Regions from separate parts of the Homo sapiens genome. Here region 2 is linked to region 1. The links are contacts of gene promoters, found by promoter capture Hi-C in blood cells and fetal thymus (Javierre and others, 2016). All regions are on one chromosome and are shown on one strand. Each heading gives the region's core, a stretch centred on a gene start or on the middle of the fragment in contact. The rest is flanking DNA. Distances are from core to core; before and after follow the strand shown. Region 1 holds the start of ACD (ACD shelterin complex subunit and telomerase recruitment factor). Region 2 holds the start of FHOD1 (formin homology 2 domain containing 1).

Evidence for each region. Contacts are between HindIII fragments. The CHiCAGO score rates a contact against its expected background, and 5 or more counts as called.
Region 2: the fragment with the promoter of FHOD1 here is called in contact with the fragment with the promoter of ACD in region 1 in 7 of 17 cell types (neutrophils, erythroblasts, naive CD8 T cells and 4 more); the score reaches 8.5 in neutrophils.

The regions. Positions count from the first base shown.
Region 1 is chr16:67,658,233-67,662,073 of GRCh38, reverse strand. It overlaps ACD (ACD shelterin complex subunit and telomerase recruitment factor), which reads left to right and starts at 1,814. Exons shown (of 12, transcript NM_001082486.2): 1 at 1,814-1,952; 2 at 2,029-2,171; 3 at 2,279-2,372; 4 at 2,461-2,537; 5 at 2,655-2,699; 6 at 2,811-2,845; 7 at 2,995-3,146; 8 at 3,258-3,354; 9 at 3,433-3,519; 10 at 3,712-3,841. The coding sequence starts at 1,854. It overlaps PARD6A (par-6 family cell polarity regulator alpha), which reads right to left and starts at 1,114. Exons shown (of 3, transcript NM_001037281.2): 1 at 973-1,114; 2 at 397-619; 3 at 1-178. The coding sequence starts at 1,035. RefSeq lists silencers at 848-1,327, 1,638-1,747 and an enhancer at 1,901-2,484. The HindIII fragment of the contact is 13,736 bases long and covers 1-3,841 here.
Region 2 is chr16:67,245,777-67,249,617 of GRCh38, reverse strand. FHOD1 (formin homology 2 domain containing 1) reads left to right here and starts at 2,137. Exons shown (of 22, transcript NM_013241.3): 1 at 2,137-2,408. The coding sequence starts at 2,208. It overlaps SLC9A5 (solute carrier family 9 member A5), which reads right to left and starts at 639. Exons shown (of 16, transcript NM_004594.3): 1 at 417-639. The coding sequence starts at 603. RefSeq lists enhancers at 1-400, 401-902, 3,303-3,841 and silencers at 578-687, 988-1,077, 1,098-1,187, 1,830-2,199, 3,100-3,199. The HindIII fragment of the contact is 13,502 bases long and covers 1-3,841 here.

The sequences.
Region 1 (3,841 bases), core at 565-3,064:
CGGTGGGTCTCAGGCAGTAGGTCCACGTCTATGACTGAGGAAACCTGGCGGAAATCTTGGGGCAGGCTGATTAGCAAGGGTGGCCGGGTGCGCAGGGGTGCCACTGGCCGCAGCAAGAGCCCTTTCTTGCGCCGCTGCAGAGAGTTGGAGGCAAAAGCCAGGCCGCTGGAGTCAGCTTCTGCTGCAGAAGAGGGGGGATGTTGAGATCAGAGACCTGCTCCCCGACTTGGGCTGTTTACAGGGGGCACTGTAGCTATTTCCTACCACTTAGAGGTCAAGCCAAGGGCAGGGACTGCAGAGGGTGACGCTTGGGTACCCTGGGCATGGACTAACCCTTGTAGACCTGCCCCACAGACACCTTACCCCACAGAGGCTGCCCACTGTACCCCTCCTCACCCCGCTTCTGCACCAGTAGGCGCAGTGGCGGGGGCCCGCTGGCCAGGGCCCGGTGCAGGCTGTCGTCGTTGGTGAGGGGCAGCAGGTCGCCATGAGCATCCGTATAGCCAAGTAGCACGTCCAGGCCCGGGATCTGGTGCACCGCCCGCAGCAACCGCGAGAACTCCTGGAAGCCGCTCACCGAAGCGCGAGGCAGCGCGAAGCGTCGGAACTCGGCGTCAAACTGGAAGTCGGGGTTGGGGGAGAGGAGGAGTCAGGACAGCCTGCGCCCCTTTCTCACCGCAGGCTGGCAGGAATGGGAAAGATGCGGCTGCCGCTTTTGCGGCAGCCTTAAGCCCAGACCTCAGCTCCAGTACCAGGGACGCTGTCCAAGGTCTTCTTACCGCCCTCCAGGTACTCAGGCCACAGAGAGCTGGAGACCAGCAGTGGAGGAAGGAAGACGGATGGGGGAAGGCGAGCAGAAAAGCAGAATGGGACTTGGAGGATAGAGGGAAGAGGTGGCGGGGACCAAGGAGCTGGGAAGGGGAGAAAGAGGGAATTGGGAGCGCCTAGGGCCGAGGCCGGAGGAGCCCTTACTTTGCTCTTCACCTCGACGATGCTATCGGGACTGCGCGCCGGAGTCCTCTGCGGCCGGGCCATGGCGGGGCCGGGCGGGCCGGGGACGGTGCCCCAGGCGGCCCGCCGAGGCGCAGGTGCACAGCCCGGCCGGCCCGCCCGCGCCGCCCCGCCCCTGGCGGTAGCACACGCCCCGCCTTCCCATCCGGAGCGTGACGTCAAGGGGGCAGCGACGCAGAGTGGAACGCGGAGTCCACGTTTCCTAGGAAACGGAGCCGTGGATGGAGAGGAGCCGTCCTCCGCTCTTGCGTCATCACGCTGAGGTCCGCGCGCCCCCGGAGTCTGGGGAGCAGGGCTCCGCCAATCCGAGGGGAGGGCGAAGGAAGTACCATTTATTTAGCGCTGTGTGTGTGCTCTTATTTCCACTGGCCTTACAAGACCGTGCACTGTGTAGATGAGGAAACTGAGTCATAATAAATATGTGCTGAACCGTTCGGGGGTCACACGGTGCTGAAATGGTTTCGAGTCAACTCGCTCGGACGGCACTCGGCCTCAGCCTCCGGCCCTGGAACCCTCTCCAGGGACGGGACCAGCCCTTGTTCTGTTCCCTACCGGTACCACAGGAATCTTGACGAACGGCCCAAATGCCTGGCCGCTGTCAGAGTGACGCCGCGATGAGAGTAAACGGGCCAGCATCCCGTGCACCAGCGGGGTGGACCAGCGGGAGTCTGCACACAGGCCCCCGAGCAGGACGCCCTCGTGCGCAGGCGCGGGGTGTACGTGGGCGGGGCCTCCTCCTCCGGCCCCGCCCAGCGAAGGAGCTTCCTCTTCCGAGGAAAGGCGGGGCCTGGGCGCCCGCGGGAAACCCGGGCCCGTTGCATCCGCTGGGTGTAGCCGTGGGGATGGCAGGTTCGGGGAGGCTGGTCCTACGGCCCTGGATTCGGGAGCTGATTCTGGGGTCAGAGACACCCTCCAGTCCACGAGCCGGGCAGCTGCTTGAGGTGAGCCCCCATTCAGGGCCCGGAGACCGAGGCGGAGGCCCGGGGTGGTGGGATTGACGCCGCTCGCCGCCGTCAGGTACTACAGGACGCCGAGGCCGCGGTCGCGGGCCCATCCCACGCCCCTGATACGTCCGACGTCGGGGCCACGCTGCTTGTGTCTGACGGGACCCACAGTGTCCGATGCCTGGTGACGCGGGAGGCCCTGGACACCTCGGACTGGTGAGAGGCCCCGCGCGGCTCTGGAGGTCGGAGTCCGGCAGGAGAGCGCGAGGTGGGCGGGCCTTGTGTTCAGGTGGGCCCGGCAGTGAGGATCCTGCTTGTTGCAGGGAGGAGAAGGAGTTCGGCTTCCGCGGGACAGAGGGCCGGCTGCTGCTGCTGCAGGACTGCGGGGTTCATGTCCAGGTCGCTGAGGGCGGCGCGGTGAGTGGTGAGACTGCCTTGGGCGGGTTACCGGGCATGACTCTTCGTGACGATTCTGAGACCCCCCCTTCCCCCCGAACTCCTCCAGCCCGCAGAGTTCTATCTCCAGGTGGACCGCTTCAGCCTGCTGCCCACGGAGCAGCCCCGGCTACGGGTGCCTGGTTGGTAAGTGATGCCTCCGCCCTCCAGCAGCTCTCCCCACCCCAGCCTGGCCGGCGCTGGCAGACGCCTATGGGGTAGGAGGGCTTGGGCCCCCATTAACTACCCTTCTCTTTTTCTTAGCAACCAAGACTTAGATGTTCAGAAAAAGCTCTATGACTGCCTTGAGTGAGTCTGGGGTTGGGCTCGGGGGCCACGTGTTGTTTGGTGAGGGGATGGTGTATCTAGGTAGACAGGCCTCAGCATGGTTCCTGAGTCCTGGCCACTCTCTTCCTGTAGGGAGCACCTTTCAGAGTCCACCTCGTCCAATGCAGGTACTGTAGAGCTTGACCAGTGATCCTAACACGCTGTGCAGTGATCTCTCCAGCCTTAACCTTATGCTTCCTCAATAAGCTGTCTTCCCCCTCACCCTCCTGGTCCTCCCCTTTAAGCCTTGACTCATCCCATGGTCCCCTGTCCCCAGGCCTATCACTGTCCCAGCTTCTGGATGAAATGCGGGAGGACCAGGAGCATCAGGGGGCACTCGTGTGCCTGGCTGAAAGCTGCCTGACACTGGAGGGCCCTTGCACAGCACCCCCTGTCACCCACTGGGCTGCCTCACGATGCAAGGCCACGGTCAGTCTGGGGATTTGCTTGGGAGATGTCAGGGTGAGGAGTTGGGCAAGGGTCATATCCCACAGGACATGAGAGTAAACGGGCCTGTCCTACAGAGTTCATGTCCCACAGGGAGAAGCTGTGTACACTGTCCCCAGCTCAATGCTGTGCATCTCTGAGAATGACCAGCTAATTCTGAGCTCTCTAGGCCCCTGTCAGAGGACACAGGGTAAGGGGGACTGGAGAGGTTGGGGGGATACCTGGGGCCCAGGTCCACAGTGCTGATAAGACTTCCTGAACCCCCCAGGCCCTGAGCTGCCCCCACCAGACCCGGCTCTGCAGGACCTATCTCTGACCCTCATAGCCTCTCCTCCTTCCTCACCCAGTTCCTCAGGTGAGGTGATGCACAGGTCACAGGCACTCACTGCCGCCTGTCAGTCAGGTTCCCGGGCTGCGCAGGATGCTGTGAAAGGTGCACGGTGGGTGGGGGATGAACACGGTCCCTGCAGTCCTGTCTGAGCTCGCAGGCCACTCAGCTGCCCTGAGCGGAGAGGGCTGTGCCTACAATAAGTCCCCTCCTCCTCAGGAACCCCGGCCTTACCCGGCCACATGTCATCCGAGGAAAGTGGTACCAGCATCAGCCTTCTGCCTGCCCTGTCCTTGGCTGCTCCAGACCCAGGGCAGAGAAGCAGCTCCCAGCCCTCACCAGCCATCTG
Region 2 (3,841 bases), core at 888-3,387, 410 kb after region 1:
AGGATGCCTGTGTTCTTGGGAGAACACCCTCCCCTCAATGTCCCCACACATCCTCACCAGCGACAGAGGTTTCTGGGAGGCTAGGGATTGGTGGGGGAGAGACCAGACTGAAGAGGGCCTACTGCAAGGGGAAGAGGGGAGCGGAGAGGGCAAAGGAGCCTACAGATGGAGTTGGGGAGAGCGGGGGACAGCCCTTCAGAAAGGCAAATCCTCAGAGCTCCCAGGGGAGAAGACAGGGACCTGGGACCCACAAGAAGCGATGCAGGAACTGGGCGAGAGCCCGGATTTGTGGAATCCAAACCTAAGTCCCAGCACCGTGCAAGAAGCCAGCCCCAATCTGAGGACCGAGGAGGTGGGGGTGTTGGGGGCGGGTCCGCCGCTGGCGGTCGGCCTGGCGCACGCACACACGCACTCACCGATTTTGGCCAGACTGGCCACCAGGATCCACAGGGCCACCAGGTAGGGCGCCTCCACCTCGTGCCACTGCCAGCGGAAGAGCTCTAAGCCTGGGGGAGGCTCGCCCGGGGACTCTGGCTTCTGGGTGGGCTCTTCGGCCGCCCCCGCCAGGGGCAGCGCGAGCAGGGACAGGGCGGCGCGCAGCATCCTGCCGCCTGCCCAGCCGCCCTCCCGGCACCGCACGGCCGCCGGCCCCGCGTCGCCGCCGCCACCTACCGGGCGCCCCCGCGTCACAGGCACGTGGGGCCCGCTCCCCCCAATCCCGGCTCCGATACCCCCAAGCCAGGTCCAGGCTCCGAGACCCTGCCTCGGACTCTCGTAGTCGGGGACTCTCTCCTCTTTCCTCCCTAAATCAGTCCCAGCTCCGGAAATTCCCCAGTGCAGCTCTCCCCCAAGTTCCACAACCTACTCCTTCGAGTCCGCGCCCCCAAACCTCCCCAAAACCGCCCCCACCAGATCCAGAGCGGTGCGCGGCCACGGCCCCCCTGGGGCAGCCCGCAGCGGGAAGGGCGGGGGTCTGCGGGGGGCGCGGTCAGGACGGGAGGGGCACGGCTCCTCCTCGGCCAGCGCTGCTGTGCGGCGAGCAGCACCCCCCTGGGACCAAGGCGCGGCCGGGTGCAAAACGCAGGGGACCGTGCTTGGCCGCCCTCCGCCCACGTTGCCAAGCCCAGGACCCCCTGCCGGCCCCCACCCGGACCTGAGCTGCGCACGCGCACTGGACGCTCCCCAAAGCAGTGACGGACAACGCTGCCCCCAACGTCCCAGAAACCCTAAGGCCCAGACTGGCCCAGCTCGTGCCAGGCGAAGAGGGAGGCTGTTCTTCATCTCCCAAACCAAGGGGCACCTGGCCCTCCCTTTCAGTCACACTACAGAGAACTGTCTCATCTCTTTGATGAAGCTGACAGGAACCTATGGAAAACCCAGCCTACTGATTCCCTTCAAACTAGGCGAGATGCACCCAACTTTTTCCAAATCTGAGGGGCATTCGGCTCATAGCGCCCCAAACAGAGGAGGACCGTCTCCACTTTTCATTCAGGCTGAGGGGCACCCATCCCACTTTTTCTCCAAAACTGAGGGGAACGTGTTCTATCTGCCCCCTCAAACTGACTCCTCCCAATCTTTTCCCAGAAAACTGAAGGGCATCCTTCCCTCTTCCTCCCACAACTAAAGGGAACTGATCCCACCTCTTCCTTCAAACTGGGTGGAATTTATTCTCACTTCTTGCTCCAAATTGAAGGGACCCCCTCTCACTGCTTTCCCTAAATGAGGAAACCACAGGGACTCACCCCTCAAATGGAAGGAATGAGGGCTATCTTGTCCCTCAACTGAGAGAGACCTGGCCGGCCACTATCTAAAGAAACTTCTGCCCCATCTGCCCTAACACCCCTCAAAGAGAACGCAGCCTCACTATCCCCAGACCAAAGAAAGCCTCCCCGCCTTCTGCGCGTTCTCGAAGGTGGGGCGCGAGCTCGGTTTTTCCCGCCCTCCTAGCCAGTGAACTAACGGGATTCCCATTGGGCCCTGTGAGTGGCTAGCGGCGGCCCCGCCTCCGGCAGTGGTTACCTCCTGGCGCGCACTCGGGGACTAATCTTGGCTCCACCCCCTTCCTCGGCCCCGCCTCCGTCTGGCCCCGCCCCTCCAGCCGCGTCCGGTCCGGCCGGGCCCGAACCGCGGAGCTACAGTGTGCTTTGAGTAGAAGCTGCACTGGGGCCGGGACTCGGAGGCGCGCTGCGTGAGCCGGCCGCAGAGCCATGGCGGGCGGGGAAGACCGCGGGGACGGAGAGCCGGTATCAGTGGTGACCGTGAGGGTGCAGTACCTGGAAGACACCGACCCCTTCGCATGTGCCAACTTTCCGGAGCCGCGCCGGGCCCCCACCTGCAGCCTGGACGGGGCGCTGCCCTTGGGCGCGCAGATACCCGCGGTGCACCGCCTGCTGGGAGCGCCGCTCAAGGTGAGGGAGGCCGGAGAAAGGTTGGGGCGATCGGGGGTTCAGGGTGGGCGCCATGAAAACTGGTGGGAGGTGCTCCGCGGGAAGAGGCTGGAGCGAGTGTTCTTCTCCGGAAAAGTCTTGGGCTGGGGTCCCAGGGTCCACTCTGCCCCGCCTGCGGGGGAGTCCCCTCTCAAGTTGAGGGGAAACTGAAGAGGGGTGCCAGGAACTTGGCTCCGCCATTCTGACTGCCCTTCGAATTAGGCGCACCTGGGGAGGTGCTCGAGTTCCACTCGCCGTCGGTCTGCCAGGGTGGCTTCCCTGGTCAGAGTGACGGTAGCCGCTTGGGCTGTAGCGGACCCTGGAGGCGGAGCTGGGGAGGGACCAGCTTCCACCTGCTTCAGGTGAGGTGGGGGCGGGACCACGAGGAGGGGCGGGCCCGAGGCGGACTACTAGAGGTGGCAGAGGTTTCCTGCGGTGTCAGGAAGCTGGATTGGGGCTTGACCCTGTAGGTCAATGGGAGTATGGGAGTGCCGGCCGAGGAGAGACTTCACGGGGTGAGGGGAGTCCCCGCGAAGCGGTCTGGCCCGGGATCCGCAGAGCGCAGGAGGCTGCACGGGTGTAAAAGCCCTTTGAGTCACCGCTCCCGCCCCCACCCCCGGACACTCGCCGCCCATCGGCCCGCGCCTGAAAGTGAGAGGGAGGGCCGGACTAATTTTAAACAGCCGGCCTGCCCTACTTTGCTGCCGCCCCGAAGCGGACTTGTGCACAGTGCGGAAAGAGGCCCTTTTCCAGATGGCCAGCCTACCTCCTCTCCCCTCCCTCTCGCCGCCGTCAGCCCCCCGCAGGCAGCCCTTTCCGGCGCGCTGTTTCCGGGCCAGGACTCTGGGAGGCGCACTACCACCTCCACAAGCTCCCCACCAGCCCGGCCGCCTCCAGTGCTGGAGAAGAGGAGAGAGAGTCGGGGTGGGTGCCCTCCCCTGCTCCCAGCCTCAGCTGGGCGGCGAGTTGCGTAAACTTGCCCCTTGGGCCTGGGGTCTTCCCTGGAATGTGCCCCGGGCCCCCAGCCCGCATTCCTCGCGCTGCGGCCAGCCCCGCCTCTGAGCGCTGGCGGGAGGGGTGGTGAGACTATTGGCCTGGAGAGTGGCACGTGTCCAGGCCAGAACCCCGGCTTCAAGGCCATGGCTGGAAGGATGCAGGACACTGCTCACCGCCAGTTTTGACTCAGCCCCCGCTTCTCTTGCCCTATTCAGAGGGGCAAATTGAGGTGTGCCTGGAAGAAGCGTGTGCAGCTGGAGGCCACCTCCCATTCAGGATGGGGGCTGGGAAGACAGGAGTGCTGAACTAAGACTGGTTCCCGCTTCCAGGCTCCTAAAGTCCGGATCCTGAAATAAGGGTGGGGCACTAGAGAATATATTGTATTCCTCTCATCCTGCAACTCAAGGATTGGACCTAGC